Regions from separate parts of the Homo sapiens genome. Here all the other regions are linked to region 2. The links are contacts of gene promoters, found by promoter capture Hi-C in human tissues and cell types (Jung and others, 2019). All regions are on one chromosome and are shown on one strand. Each heading gives the region's core, a stretch centred on a gene start or on the middle of the fragment in contact. The rest is flanking DNA. Distances are from core to core; before and after follow the strand shown.

Region 1 (2,767 bases), core at 235-2,734, 210 kb after region 2:
ACTACTATAATTGAGTGGTAACTTTCTGAGTAGAAACTGGTGCTGCCAAATTCTGATATAAGGTAAAATTGGGTGGCAATATCAAAATAATTGGGTGGGAGGTGGAGAGAAAGAGCTAAATATTCAAAACCAGACTCAGCACAGGTGTACTTATCAGCCACCATGCCTAAAACGTTCTGGAACACAGTGACTGCCAATGCTTTAGGCCCACCCCAGACTCCAATGTCAGCCCAGGACAAGTCTTTCAAAGAAGTCAGAGTTCTCTTCCCTAGGGAGCTTTACCTCCATGAGCTCTTCTCCACCCACCTGAGTTTCTGTTGTACAATCACAGCCGTCCGGCGAGCCTGCCGTCTTTTGCCACATTTCTTATAACTTCGGTAGTACTTTTGGATGAGCACAGCAGCCCGTCGGCTCTGCTGGAATTTTTTTTGTTCATAGTAACTTCGGAATTTGCTCTGGATAAGGATGGCAGCCTGTGTCATCTTTTTATAAAGTGCGTACTGCAGGGGAAACAAGAACAAGCGACACAGTAACAACAGGGGCTGCACGGGCTCAGCGTCCTTCGAGCTTACCGGGAAGGGAAGAAGAGAAAATGCTTTTCCCCTCTATTATCACATTCTCTGTCCGGGGTTTAATCACAAAAGAGGCAAATGAGGAATCTTTACACCTACCTTTCCAAAATGTAAAATATTACTTTAAGGGTTGCCTTCAGACATATATTTTTTCCCTAAAATATCAAAATATCTTGCCCTTCTTGGAGAAAAATTTTAATAGCAATACCCTTAGACGTTTATGAATCTAAAAACAGATTTCGACAGTAAAATTTTAAATGCTTCGGATTAATATTTTCTATCCAGTTTTGAAACACTAACATAATTTTTTTATGCCTTCCAATTCCCACCATACACAAATCTACTTAGCATTCAGCCTCTGATTTTTAACTATCATTCCACACGACAAGTTTCTGACTGAGTTGCAAGGTCCCAAATACAAGGCTTATCATGAAACGCTGACACCTTTAAGCCATTTTAACCTGTAAAAGATGAACACTCGTAAGACCAACACGGTGGTGAAGCCGTGAAACCTGGACGGCTGTCACAGAGCTGCGGACGACCCAGGAGGCAGTGCCAGGAGTCCTCCACGCAGCCCGCTGCAGAGCTACAGAAGTGAGGGACGAAGGCCCAGGGTGAATTCTCAACATCAGTCTCTAGGCACTAAAAATACAGAGCTCTCCATGGTCTTAAAATGCTACGTCCAAATTTCTAATCAAACAGAGTATGACTCTGGGGATGAGAAGTTGCAATGAAGCCCTTTGCTTATAAGACGGCAACTTACCGTCGCAAGGAAAAATATTCCCCAGAAAATCCCTGTATCTGCCTAACTGTATCTCTGGATGTATGAGGAGGTGAAATGAGGGAGGGAAACTGACTTCTCAGAATTGTCCAAGAACCAGGACCCTTCTGCAAGAACCTTCTTTGGTCTTATCTGACCTGCTTTACCTTTTCACTGGTCTGAAAGTCTTTGAAGACAAGAATGCTGCAGACTACAGAGCCCCTGTGGTTTCCATCGTCTCCACCTGTGCACACTACACACTCAGACCCATCGGGCCACAGTGAAGCGCTTTGGGAAAAAGGGTATTTACTTAGTGGCCACAGGGCTCACAGGAACTGGCTTAGATGGATTAACACCAGCCAAAAAATGTCCAGTTATTAATGTCGAAACCCACTCCAGCTGAATAACCACGTGGTCCCCAGACGACAGAGGAACTGTGCTTAGGTGGCCTGGCAAGGGGGATATGTTTACTCCATGACTGTGCCATCTTAATGGCCCTCCCTGTAGCTGGTGATGGGTGTGAAGTTTGTGACTCTGGTGGAATGGTTTGTGAGAGGGCTTGGGTGTATCATTACCTTCAAGGCTATCCATGTCAGCTTGGGGGAAAAACAGAAAATACAAGATTAATGTTACATTGCTGAATATAATGAAATTAAAAACCAGAATCAATAAAACTCCCAACCAAGAAAAAAAAAAAAGGCAACCTGGCTATATTAATGCCTTCCATCTTCCAAAATATTTGTTTTATAGTTGTTACTCTTTCCAAAAATAATGCCTTCTGTCTTCCTAGCTGTAGATGACAGTTTCTGGGGAGGGTTTTTTTTTTTAAAAAACCAAACTCATATTTTGGAATCAATACCTGTTGTAATCACAGACTTGAAACCTTCATTCTGTGTATCACTTGTGCTCCCAGGAAGCCTGCTCACCAAACAGAAGCCAGTGCGGCTCCCTGCTATAGAGCTACAGGCACTGTGGTGTCAGCGTTTGCACAATAAACCTTCCTTTTCTGGGATCATGAACTCAACTGGCTCGAAGCCAAAGACGTCCCCCCACCCCCATTAATAGGGCTTAATCCTAGAGAAGCTTGAGGAAACGGCAACCCATATCAGAAATTGAGGCAAGTCCTGGATTATGACAAGGTGATAGAATCCCTAATTTCTATGTGACCATTACACATATTAGAATTTATTATTCCTTAAATAAAAATTTATAACTACCTAAAGCACAATCTGATAAAAGGTTCTCGAATCTACTGACAGGCCTGAATTTTATCGTGTGAACCAGTCAAAACTCCATTAGGCAATTTTTAATATTTTATAACCACCTTGATAATGAGAAAGGCCTAATATTCATGTAATTTCTCTGAGCTTCAGCTTCTTCATCTGTAAACTGGAAATAAATACTGCTTACTTCAAATAATTGTAAAAAGGAAATG
Region 2 (2,873 bases), core at 21-2,520:
ATATTTGAAATATTTCATAGAGCACTTTGAATATTTTATTCAAAATGATTTAAAAATCCAAAAACATTTAAAACAGGAATGGCTAAAAATCGATGTGGGACTTACCCCAGCTCGCCTCATGACATCTACAGGGATGACCGTCTCCATTTCCTCTGCTCCTTTAGCCAGGATGACCAGAGCTCTTTTGGAAGCCATTTTTATGTTATATGTTTACAAGCCTTAAAAAAAAAAAAAAAAAAAGATTTCAAAAAACTTTCATTGCAACCCTGAGATACCCCAAAATTTAAAGTTTAGGAGCATTTTCAAGCAGAGTAAGTACTTCCTAGGGAAACGGTTTTCATAGACAACTGAATACGAAAAAAGCAGCAGTTTAGTTATCTTAACGTTGATTTGTATAGCAGTTTTAATTGCTCTGAGATGAAAACATAATGAGGGTGCTAAAAGGTGTAGTATTGCTTAGATTTTCTTCTACCATGTTCTCTTAAATCCAACTTTAATAGTATGTTGCAAATGGGTTTTTTAAAAATACAAGTACGTGGGTCTCCTGCATTTCACACAATGCGGGGAAACAGTCTTTTTTGAAGCACTGTTTCAGAGAAACGACTAAACTGAATTTCATGGGCAAAAATTTAAATGTGGTCTTTCGCAATTAACTTGTAATTTTTTGGAGGGGATTTTTGTTTTCTTAGTTATAACTGTACTAAAAAATTGTGTGTGGGGGTCAACAGTGTTAAATGTCTGAACACTTTTTTTAATGACTGAGAAAGATGGAAATCCCCTCACTGAAGTCAACCCAACTACATCTGTCTCTCTGCGCGGAGTTCTCACTGCCAACGACAGCAGCTCAACGAGGTTCCGAATTTTTTTTAGCCTATTTACAGATTATCTGGAGGGTTTACCGTCCACGCAAAACAGAGTTTAATAAAACGGCTAGCCAGTTCCATGCCGGCGAGAGGTTAGGCAGAAGATTCTGGACGCTTCAGCGTTGCCACCACGCTGGCGGTCAGTCAAATCCAACGCCAGCGACAGGGCCCGACTGGGAGGCCGGAAGCGAGGGCGGCCCCGACCCAGGCCCCGCGCCGGTTCTGAGCCAGCGGGACACCGTCCAGCACAGGGACACCGTCCAGCACCCCCACGCCGCCCAGCGCCACGGCCCACACATGCGCCGCGCCCCCGCTGGCGCTGACCTGCACCCCGCGCCTCTTCCTGCGGACGCGGCGCCCCGGCCCGTTGGGTACCACTCACCCCACACCAGGCTGAAAATGAACGCACGCCAGCACGCACGCGCGCCGTCCGGCCTCCCTCAGCCCCACACTGCGCAGACTCACGCCGCCTTGGCCTCACGCTGCGTCACGTCCGGCCGAGTCTACCTCGGACTGAGGCGGGGGTGGCACCGGGGAGTTTCTAGCTGGACAGCCCTGGGTGAGGCGGCTCGGTCCCACATGGTACCCCCCACGAATGGCACAGTCCGGCCTGCCCCGGCGCCCGCGGGGCTTAACAGTCTCTACCGCCACCCTCCGTGAGGAGCCGGTCTCTGGAACTGCCGAGGGACTGGGGTTGTCAGAGGGGTTCCTTAGTTCGCGCTCCGTGCACGCCTGCTCCCTTTGCGTTGTTCCTTTTCTGGCGCGCCTTCCCGTTTCGCCTCTGGTCTGTTAGGACTCTGGTCCAGGCCTCCCGGACCTCTCCCCCACGCCTGGTCTCCCGATCTCGGGCGACTCTGCCGCATTTATTCACACCCGGATGTCTCAGGGGTGTGAGTTTTTTTCTCAGCATTGTTTGTTTTCTTTAACGATCCTGATGCTGCTGCACCCACAGGACTAGAGCAGTGCTGCGCACATAAGTCTAATAAGTACCAAGTTGGTCAGATGTATTTACATCATAATCTCAAGTTGTATTTATTGATATGTAAGAGACGTATGTGTTTTCTGGGTACATGTGGTATTTTGATACTTTCATATAATGTGTAATGATTAAATCAGGGTAAATGAGATCTCTATCACCTTAAACATTTGTCTTTATACTGGGAACATTCCAGTTACTCTCTTCAATAATAACATTTTAAAATATACAACAGATTACTGTTAACTATAGTCACCCTACAGAACTCTGCCAACGCTAGGTCTTATTCCCTCTTAAGGAGAGCACAGATCACCTGGTGACCATCAAGCAGGCCCCTTATCTGAGGAATTTAGAAGTAATTAGATATCCCTATTATCTAAAGTTGGCACCTGGTACCAGGTTAAATCAAAGGAAATAGTTAAAGCCCAAAATTCTTGAATGAGCTTAGAAGGATCCTGGCTAAATGAACGCAACTTGGATTGAATTTGCAAAAAATGAGACATTCGAAAAGGGACATGAAAAATCCACCGCGGCATGCTCAGTTCTCTCTTGCTGAGGCTGCACTCTTCTGCAGCGTTCTAATAAAACTTTCCTTTTTCAAACCTATATTGTTGTCGATAAATTCTTCTTACCAACCAGCAAGTCGACCACTTTCTGATGCTGGGGCTCTTGACACCTTGCCCAGCACTTCTACCAATTTTTGTACCTATTAATCACCCTGTTCATCCCCTTCTCCTGGCTACCCTTCCTGGCCTCTGGTAACCACCAACTTATCTTCATGATATCCACTTTTCAACTTCCCATTTATGAGTGAAATCATGTGATGCTTGTCTTTCTTTGCCTGGCTTGTTTCACTTAACATAATGACCTCCAGTTCCATCAATGTTGTTGCAAATAGGATTTTATTATTTTTTATGGCTGAATAGTATTCATTGTGTATATTTACATTTTATTTATCCAGTCATCCATTGATGAACATTTTGGTTGATTCCATATTTTGACTGTTGTGAACAGTGCTACAATAAGCATAGGAG
Region 3 (2,924 bases), core at 379-2,878, 250 kb before region 2:
CCAGGGAATATTCACTACCAGCTGGTGCCTTCACATGTGGGGTTCGCCGTCTCATGGCTTCATGAGCTTGAGTCTTGCCCCACGGTTTCTCTAAGGGTTAAATCCATGACCTCCACCAAAACTGAGCGTGAGATACTTACTGAGTCCAGCGAAGAGCAGAGACCACAGTCAAATTAAGAGAAACAGACTCAGAAGGCACGGGAAGGAACGTCGATGCTATCAGAAAAGCCAGATTCCACATAAATCCTCCTATTTACAAATGAAAGATTCAGATGACGGGGGAAGGGGCTGCTTGCAGACTCTTTCCCACATCTCTCGGCACAGTGCCCATCTTAAGGGGGAAATCAACGTTAAGAAATGACATTGGTCGGGCACGGTGGCTCACACTTGTAATCTCAGCCCTTTGGGAGGCGGAGGCGGGCAGATTGCTGAGCCTGGGGGGTTCGAGACCAATCTGAGCAATAAAGTGAAACCCCATCTCTACAAAAAATATAAAAATTAGCTGAGTGTGGTGGTGTGCACCTGTAGTCCCAGCTACCGAGGAGGCTGAGGTGGGGGGACCACCTGAGCCCAGGAGGTCAAGGCTGCATTGAGCCGTGATGTCACCACTGCACTCCAGCCTGGGTGACAGACCTAGGTGAAGACCTTAGCTCAAATAAAAATAAAAATAAAAAGAGAAAGGATAAAAAAGATATTTTTCACCCTCTAACCTGAGAATTCTTCCAGATACAACTGAGATAGGTCCACCCCCAAATTCCTCCGCCACCCAGGGCACGCGGCAGTCGGGACTGGAGAGGCTCCCTCAGCGGAGGCTACAGCCAAACATGAAGCTTGCATTCTTTTTTTCTTTCTTCTTTCTTTTCTTTCCTTTTTTCTGTTTCTTTCTGGTAGAGACAGGGATTCACCATGTTGCTCAAGCTGGTTGCCAACTCCTGGGCTCAAGGGAACTGCCCACCTTGGCCTCCCAAAGTGTTAGAATTACAGGTGTGGGCCACTGTGCCCAGCCCTGAAGCTTGCATTCTCCCTGGTCTTCGAGTCTCTGTTACCTCTGGAGCCATCGCAGACATCCAAGCGGCTGCTCACCTCTGGCCAGGCTTCCCCGGCCTATGGCCAATGTGGAAGCTCAGACCCTTGCCCTCAGATGGGCCCGCCCAGGGGGTTTAATTCTCTGCAATTGCCCTCTTGGACTTCTTTTTTTTGAGACGGAGTGTTGCTCTGTCACCCAGGCTGGAGGGCAGTGGCTCGATCTCGGCTCACTGCAACCTCCGCCTCCTGGGTTCAAGCGATTCTCCTGCCTCAGCCTACTGAATAGCTGGGATCACAGGTGTGTGCCACCATGCCCGGCTAATTCCTGTATTTTAGTAGAGAAGGGATTTCACCATGTTGGCTAGTCTGGTCTCGAACTCCTGACCTCATGTGATTCGCCCACCTCGGCCTCCCAAAGTGCTGGAGTTACAGGTGTGAGCCACGCGCTCGGCCCCTCTTGGATTTCTTAATACTTTTCTTTCTGACTTTGTGGTTTGTAAATGAAATCCAGTGGGACAAAGGATCTGCTGGCAGGAGGGCACGGACTGTGGGGATCAAGGACAGTTAGGGTTTCAGGGTTGGGACTCAAGCACCCTGCCCCTGGGCACCTGAGTCTGTGAGACTCCCAGAGATGTCTTTGAGAACCCCCCGTCCCAGGGAGCACACCATTCAATCACAAATAAAAACCACTGTGACAGGTGAAGGGAGGAAAGGAAAAAGCTTTTCTCCTGCTTTTGGAACCAGGAGTCCCGTGTTGTCGTGTTGCACGGGACCTGGCAGTGACATCGCTGGCTCTGCCTCTGGCCCCAACACATCCTCCAGTGTGTGTCTCTCACCTGGACGGGCTCTCCAGGCCGATGCGTTGGGATGCTGACTTTTAGAGTTTTGTGTGTGACAAAGCAGAGGACAAGCTTCCCCATCACCCAGAGGCCACTTGGTGGAGGAGCCGGGGAAGCTGCTGGCTTCTCGGGCTTTTGTAGTCATGGGTTGGCCACCGAAGCCCAAGGCCAACTGTCACCTACTCCAAGTCTTGACATCCTCATCTGCAAAAAGCAAAGAGATAACATGATTTTCAAGATGTTTTCTGGCTCTACGAATATCTGACGATTCCGAGTACACGATAAGGCTCATTTTCTGCTTGGGAAAACCCAGTGCTGGAGAGAACACAGGATCCCCCAGCTTCCCAACACCAGCCTAGGGAAATGATGTTCATCTGACAATGAAAATTTCTAGGGCCGGGGTGGTGACTCACACCTAGAATCCCAACACTTTGAGAGGCCGAAGTGGGAGGATCGCTTGAGGCCAGGAGTTCAAGACCAGCCTGGGCAACACAGCGGGACTCCCTCTCTACAAAAAATAAAAATAAGCCAGGCATGATGGTGTGTGCTTGTAGTCCCAGCTACGCAGGAGGCTGAGGTGGGAGCATTGCTTGAGCCCGGGAGGTTGAGGCCACGGTGAGTAGTGATTGTGCCACTACACTGCAGCCTGGGCGACAGAGTAAGACCCTATCTCAAAAAAAAGAGAAAATTTTAGAATTAGTGGCAGTGGAAAACGATGCAAAGGTTCCTATGTTTTGAGGTGCATCCTATAACCCAGATTTATTGTAGGAGAAATTTCATAGCATCTCAGATCCTAGGCTTGGTGGACAATGAGAGGGGAGGTTAATAAATATTCCTTCTGCCTTTGGGAGGGTAGAATAAAGAAGCTGATGTACAAATCAAAAATATTTATAACTAATAAATCCTATCAAAACCCTCACTGTGACAATGGGCCATAATTTTTGTTCTCTTTTAAAACTGCTATTGTCGACCAGCCGCGGTGGCTCACGCCTGTAATCCCAGCACTTTGGGAGGCTGAGGCGGGTGAATCACCTGAGGTCAGGAGTTCAAGACCAGCCT
Region 4 (3,180 bases), core at 476-2,975, 240 kb after region 2:
ATTTAAATGGGTTATATAAAGGAAAATGGAAAATGAAAATCCTAACACTTAAGAAGGGAAACTGCAAAGACAGAAACGACAAAGTGAGCAGGAATTGTCAGGAGGTATGGATACAATAATTAAGCACCAGCGGCTTGTTTGGTGGCGCCTAGCATGATCAAAACACCACTTGAAATCCTTGGGGAAGAACTATGGAGAATCCGGCCAGAACGGACTCATTCCACAAATGTTTACGGAACGCCCACTGTGTTTACGGAACACCCACTGTGTTTACGGAACGCCCACTGTGTTTACGGAACGCCCACTGCTGGCTAAGACTGCGCCAAGGCTCTAGGGAACTAAGGGTGAACAAGACAACTCAAGTTGTTAGCCACCGGGACTACAAAAACCCAACACGATATGAGCCTTTGTCACCAGAAACTCGGTCTCATATACATGAACGTAAAGAGAAATTGTGTTGGCTCAGTGAGGCCAGTGACTACGTTCATCCCAGTCACCGCTACATTCCTGAGGCCTAGCAGAAATTCCTGGTGCACAGTAGGCCCTCTGTAAATATTTATTGACGAAATGATTTAATTTCAACTATCGGAAATACACAACGTGAACTTCAAGAAGAACAAGGTACAGAATAACATGTAGAACAAATATTTGTTTCCATGAGTCATTTCTATGATGGGCTTTTTTTCAGCCAAGTTATTAAAAGCAGCTCCTTCATGGTCACCTTTTAGCTAATAAGAATATATCCGTTTTTATTTTTTTATTTTTTTTTAGACAGGGTCTCGCTTTGTTGCTCAGGCTGGAGTGCAGTGGTGCAAACATGACTCACCACAGCCTCTACCTCCTGCCTTAGCCTCCTAAGTAGCTGGGACCACAGGCATGCACCACCACGCCTGGCTAATTTTTTGTATTTTTGGTAGAGGTAGGGTTTCACTATGTTGCCCAGGCTAATCTCAAACTCCTGGGCTCAAGTGATCCTCTTGCCTCAGCCTCCCAAAGTGCTGAGATTACAGGTGTGAGCCACTACGCCTGGCCTCAAATTTTTTTGACATGGACATAAATTGTACGTATTTATTGCATACAACCTGATGTTTTGAAGTACATGAACGTTGTGGAAAGATTAAATCTAGCTAATTAACAAATGTACTACATAGTAATGCACTATGTACAAATGTACTTTGGAGTACATTTGTTCATTAAATAATGACACAGCTATCATTTTTGTGGTGAGGGCATTTAACATCTACCCTCTTAGCAATGTTCAGGAATATATCATGATGAACTCGAGTCACCAGGCTGTACAATAACCCCTTGAACTGATTCCTCCTGTCTAACTGTAAATACACATTCTCTGACAAACATCTCCCCGACGTCCCCATTCCCAGCCTCTGGTAATGACTATTCTATTGTCCACTGCCATGAGATCAACTTTTTAAGACTCTGCCTAGGAGTGAGATCATGTGGCATTTGTCTTTCTGTGCCTGGCTTACTTCACTTCACAGAATGCTGTCCATATTCAGCTCTGATGTTGGCAATGGCAGGATTTCATTCTGTTTTATGGCTGAATAGTACTCCACTGTAGACACAGACCACATTTTCCTTACACATTCATCCACAGATGGACACTCAGGGTGCTACCGTATCCTGGTTATTGTGAACAGTGTTGCAATAAACACAGGAGTGCAGATCTCTCTCTGACATCCTAATTTCATTTCCTTTGGCTACAGACGCAGTGGTGGGATTGCTGGATCCTCATTAGTTGTGCCAAGCTCATTCTCCATACATTATTTAGGACTGCTATTGGCAAGGCTTGGCTCTCAGAACTAACTCTAGGGGGACCATCTGCACAGACGGTGCTAACTGTCTTGCTAACTTGTGAGAGTTAAAGCCCAAGACGTTCCAAAAATATGTATTTTTCTGAATACTGGATTCTACATGAGAGACTTCTGTTCCAGAACTCACAAGTTTATTAATTATAATGTTTTTCATAGTGCTACAAAATCTGGAAAACATATAGGTAAATAAGTCCTTCCCAACTTAGTAGAATGAAATGTACATATTTTAAAATAAATAGCTGGATTCTGGATAAAATATCTGTCCAATATTTTATCTTTATTATTAGGGGCTAATAAAATAGGTCCTAATGGATAAAATGACTTAAGAATATTAGCTGGGCACAGTGTCTCATGCCTGTAATCCCAGCACTTTGAGGCTGAGGCAGGAGGATCACTTGAACTCAGGAGTTGGAGACCAGCCTGGGCCACATAGTAAGACCCTATCTCAACAAAACATAAAAAAATTAGCTGGGCACGGTGGCATGAGCCTGTAGTCCCAGCTACTCTGGAGGCTGAGATGGGGGGATCACGTGAGCCCAGAAGGTGGAGGCCACAGTGAGCTTCAATCATGCTGCTGCACTCCAGCCCGGGCAACAGAGTGAGACCCTGTTTCAAAAACAAAATAAAACAAAGCAAAACAATTTTATAATTCATCATAGACCCTTCTGATAAATAGATGATATTTTTAAAAAGTCAATATACCACATAAATATTTTATTCAGAAATAAACTATTTCCCCAAGGGAAGTACAGGGTTTCAGAAAATTTTTAGTCATTAAGCTTCTTCCGAGTAGTGTCAGGATGCTTGTGAGGATTCTTTCATGTCTCGGCTCCTTATGCCACATCAGAATACATCAAGGACTGCTCTCCCATGCCGGCACGGCACTCAGTTCCTCTGAGTATCCCTTGGCACCCTACCCCTAGACCAGAGTCATCCTCCGATTTTTGCAAATTTCAAATCAGTGAGGCCTGAACAAATGTATGAATTACTGAGGCCAGCATTAAAGCATCCCTTGGATTACGTAAAAAAGCAAAACACTTAAGGGTGCTTTCTGTGAAAGGGGGATGTGGCTGGCACAGTGGCTACACCTGTAATCCCAGCGCTTTGGGAGGCTGAGGTGGGAGGATCACTTGAGCCCAGGAGTTCAAGGCTGCAGTGAGCCATGACTGTGCCACTGCATTCCAGTCTGGCTCAGAGAGAGAGACCGTGCCTCAAGAAAAAAAAAAAAAAAGTGTGTGGCTATGGGATGCAGCTTGACTTCATCCAGTTTCAGGGGCTATGCAATCTGCAGATCCTTACAGAACCCCCCCAAGTGGTTGACGGAATGGTTAAATAATGGAACAAAACG
Region 5 (3,009 bases), core at 230-2,729, 130 kb after region 2:
CAAAAATAGCACAAAAGACAAAGGGGACATGGAAGTACTCCGTCTTAAGGTTCTAATATATAAAGTGATACAATAGGCATAATATTTGAAGGTAAACTGTGATAAGTAAAAGATGTGCATTGTACAACCTAGAGCAGGCTGGGCGTGGTGGCTCACACCTGTAATGCCAGCACTTTGGGAGGCCAAGGCGGGCGGATCGCCTGAGGTCAGGAGTTTGAGTTCAGTCTGGCTGACATGGTGAAACTCCGTCTATACTAAAAATACAAAAAATTAGGCGTGGTGGTGCACGCCTGTAGTACCAGCTACTTGGGAGGTAGAGGCAGGAGAATTGCTTGAACCTAGGAGGTGGAGGGTGCAGTGAGCCAAGATGGCACCACTGCACTCCAGCCTGGGTGACAGAGTGAGACTCAGTCTCAAAGAAAAAAATAAGATAAAATAAAAATAAATAAAAAGTTAATCCTAGAGCAAAAACAAAAAAAAAGTTATGCTTAGAAGCCAATACACAATTAACCCGAAAGGAGGAGGGTAGGAGGAAAAAAAGAAAGGGCAGATGAGACAAACAGAAAATTAGTAGCAAGATGAAAGATTTAACTTAAACCTAACCATATCAATATTCACATTAAATGTAAATAATCTAAGCAAGCATTGCAGTTAAAAGGCTGAGACTGTCACATGAATAAAAAGCAATACCCAACTATATGGTGGTTACGAGAAACTTACTTTAAATATAAAGACACAGATAAGTTGAAAGTAAAAAGATGAAAAAAATTTACCATGTAAACACTAACCAAATAAAGCTGGACTGGATACACTGATATCAGACAAAGCAGACTTCAAAGCAAGACATATTTCAGGATAAAGAGAGCAATTCATCAAGAGGATATAATAATCTCAAGTGTATATGCACCTAATAAAAGAGCTTCAAAATACATGAAGCAAAAACTCACTGCACTATAAGAAAAAATAGAGAAATTCACATTTATAGCTGGACATATAAACCATATCATAATAACTTATAAAACAGATAGAAAATCAGTTAGAAAAGGTTGGATCAACATTATCAACCAACTTGATCTAATTTACATTTACAGAACACATGACTCAACAACAGCAGAAAGCATATTCTTTTCAAATGCACATGAAACATTTATCATGATGGACCAAATTCCAGATCATTACACAATGTCTTGGTAAATTTAAAAAATACAAAAGAATGTTCTCTGACTGCATTTAAATTAGAAATAAAATAAAAATATCTAAAAAAAATCTCCAAATATTAGGAAATTAAGCCTTTCTAAAACAACCAAAAGATCAAAGAAGAAAATACAAGTGAAATTAGAAATATTTTAGACTGGCCAGGTACACTGGCATATGCCTGCAGTTCCAGCTACTCAGGAAGCTGAGGCCAGAGGATTGTTGAACCCAGAAGTTTGAGGGTGCAGTGAGCTGGGATCATGCCACTGCACTCCAGCCTGGGCAACAGAGTGAGACCTTGGTTCCAAAAAAAAAAAAAAAAAATTTGAGGGATGCAATGGTTAGAGCATTCAATAGCATTAAATGTTTATATTGGGGGGGAAAAATCTCAATTCAAAGATCTAACAAGTAAGCTTCTACCTTAAGAAATAAGAAAAAAAAAATAAAATCCAAAGTAAAGAGAAAAGAAGTAATAAAAATTAGAGCATAGGCTGGACACGGTGGATGATGCTTGTAATCCCAGCAATTTGGAAGGCCAAGGCGGGCGAATCATGAGATCAGGAGTTCAAGACCAGCCTGGCCAACATGGTGAAACCCCGTCTCTACTAAAAATACAAAAAATCAACTGGGTGTGGTGGCGGGCACCCGTAATCCCAGCTACTCGGGAGGCTAAGGCAGGAGAATCGCTTGATCCTGGGAGGTGGAGGTTGCAGTAAGCCAATATCGTGCCACTGCACTCCAGCCCAGGTGACAGTGCCAGACTCTGTCCCAGGGAAAAAAAAAAAAAAAAAAAAAGAGCATAAATCAATAAAATAAAAAACCAAAAAACAATAGGAAAAAAAACCCCAATGAGATCCAAAGTTCTTTGAAAAGTTATTAAAATTGATAAACATACAGTCAGATTGATCAGGAAAAATATTAATACCAGCAATAAGAGGGGTACATTACTATAAAACCTACAGACATTAAAAGGAAAAGGGAATATTAAAAACTTTATGCCAATATATTCAACAAATTAGATAAAATAGATACATTTCTTGAAAGATACAAATTACCAAAGATCACTAAGAAACTGATAACCTGATTAGACCCATATATATTAAAATATTTAAATTTGTTGTTAAAATCCTCCTCACCAAGAAAACTCCAGGCCCAGAAAGATTCACTGGTAAAGTCTACCAAACTTACAAAGAAAAAATAATATCAGTTCAACACAAACTCTTCCAGAAAACAGAATAGCAAAGAATAGTTCCTAGCTCATTTTTTGAGGCCAGAATTACTCTGATACCAAAACCAGACAAAGACATTACAAGTAAAGAAAGTAAATGGACCAATATTCTGCACAGAGATGCAATAATGCGTAACAAAATATTAGGAAGATAATCCAACAACATATAAAAAAGGATAAAAGAGCATGACCAAATGCAAGGTTAATTTATTATCAGAAAACTGATGTAATTCACCATATTAATAGAATAAGGGAGGAAAACCACATGATTATCTCAACAGACGCAGAAAGGGCAACTCAGTGGAGCAGCAATAGAAGTGAACTTCCTCAATCTGATAAGGGCATTCAAGGAAAACTTATACTTAACATCGTACTTAATGGTGAAACACTGACTGCTTTCCCCTTAAGACTGTGAACCAGGCAAGTGTCTATTTTCCTATTTCTATTAAACACTTCACTGTGGGTCCTAGCCAGTTCAATGAGGCAAGACAAATAAATAAAGACATACAGACGGAAAAAAAGAAGTAAAATTATATTTGCAGATAATAAAGACTATGTAGAAAAGTCCTGCAGAATCTAAAAAGAGC

Evidence for each region. The method cuts DNA at HindIII sites, captures the fragments that hold promoters and counts their contacts. A contact is called where the count stands out against the background at its distance.
Region 1: a fragment that was not itself captured here is called in contact with the fragment with the promoter of PARK7 in region 2 in 1 of the 25 tissues and cell types used here (mesendoderm cells).
Region 3: a fragment that was not itself captured here is called in contact with the fragment with the promoter of PARK7 in region 2 in 1 of the 25 tissues and cell types used here (mesenchymal stem cells).
Region 4: a contact is called between a fragment that was not itself captured here and the fragment with the promoter of PARK7 in region 2, in 1 of the 25 tissues and cell types used here (IMR-90 fibroblasts).
Region 5: a fragment that was not itself captured here is called in contact with the fragment with the promoter of PARK7 in region 2 in 1 of the 25 tissues and cell types used here (H1 embryonic stem cells).

Annotation. Positions count from the first base shown.
Region 1 is chr1:7,748,932-7,751,698 of GRCh38, reverse strand. It overlaps CAMTA1 (calmodulin binding transcription activator 1), which reads right to left. Exons shown (of 23, transcript NM_015215.4): 20 at 307-500. Among named protein-coding and RNA genes, the nearest start is that of VAMP3, 21 kb to the left of the region's middle. The HindIII fragment of the contact is 6,096 bases long and covers 1-2,767 here.
Region 2 is chr1:7,960,108-7,962,980 of GRCh38, reverse strand. PARK7 (Parkinsonism associated deglycase) reads right to left here and starts at 1,270. Exons shown (of 7, transcript NM_007262.5): 1 at 1,188-1,270; 2 at 106-218. The coding sequence starts at 195. RefSeq lists enhancers at 830-889, 940-989, 1,190-1,239, 635-1,418, 1,620-1,719 and 1 more and a silencer at 1,370-1,469. The HindIII fragment of the contact is 29,789 bases long and covers 1-2,873 here.
Region 3 is chr1:8,207,812-8,210,735 of GRCh38, reverse strand. It overlaps LINC01714 (long intergenic non-protein coding RNA 1714), which reads right to left and starts at 2,064. Exons shown (of 4, transcript NR_125998.1): 1 at 1,863-2,064; 2 at 141-249. The HindIII fragment of the contact is 4,333 bases long and covers 1-2,924 here.
Region 4 is chr1:7,715,316-7,718,495 of GRCh38, reverse strand. The region is part of intron 11 of CAMTA1 (calmodulin binding transcription activator 1); the gene reads right to left. Among named protein-coding and RNA genes, the nearest start is that of VAMP3, 54 kb to the left of the region's middle. The HindIII fragment of the contact is 7,429 bases long and covers 1-3,180 here.
Region 5 is chr1:7,831,347-7,834,355 of GRCh38, reverse strand. The region is part of intron 19 of PER3 (period circadian regulator 3); the gene reads right to left. Among named protein-coding and RNA genes, the nearest start is that of UTS2, 20 kb to the left of the region's middle. The HindIII fragment of the contact is 4,650 bases long and covers 1-3,009 here.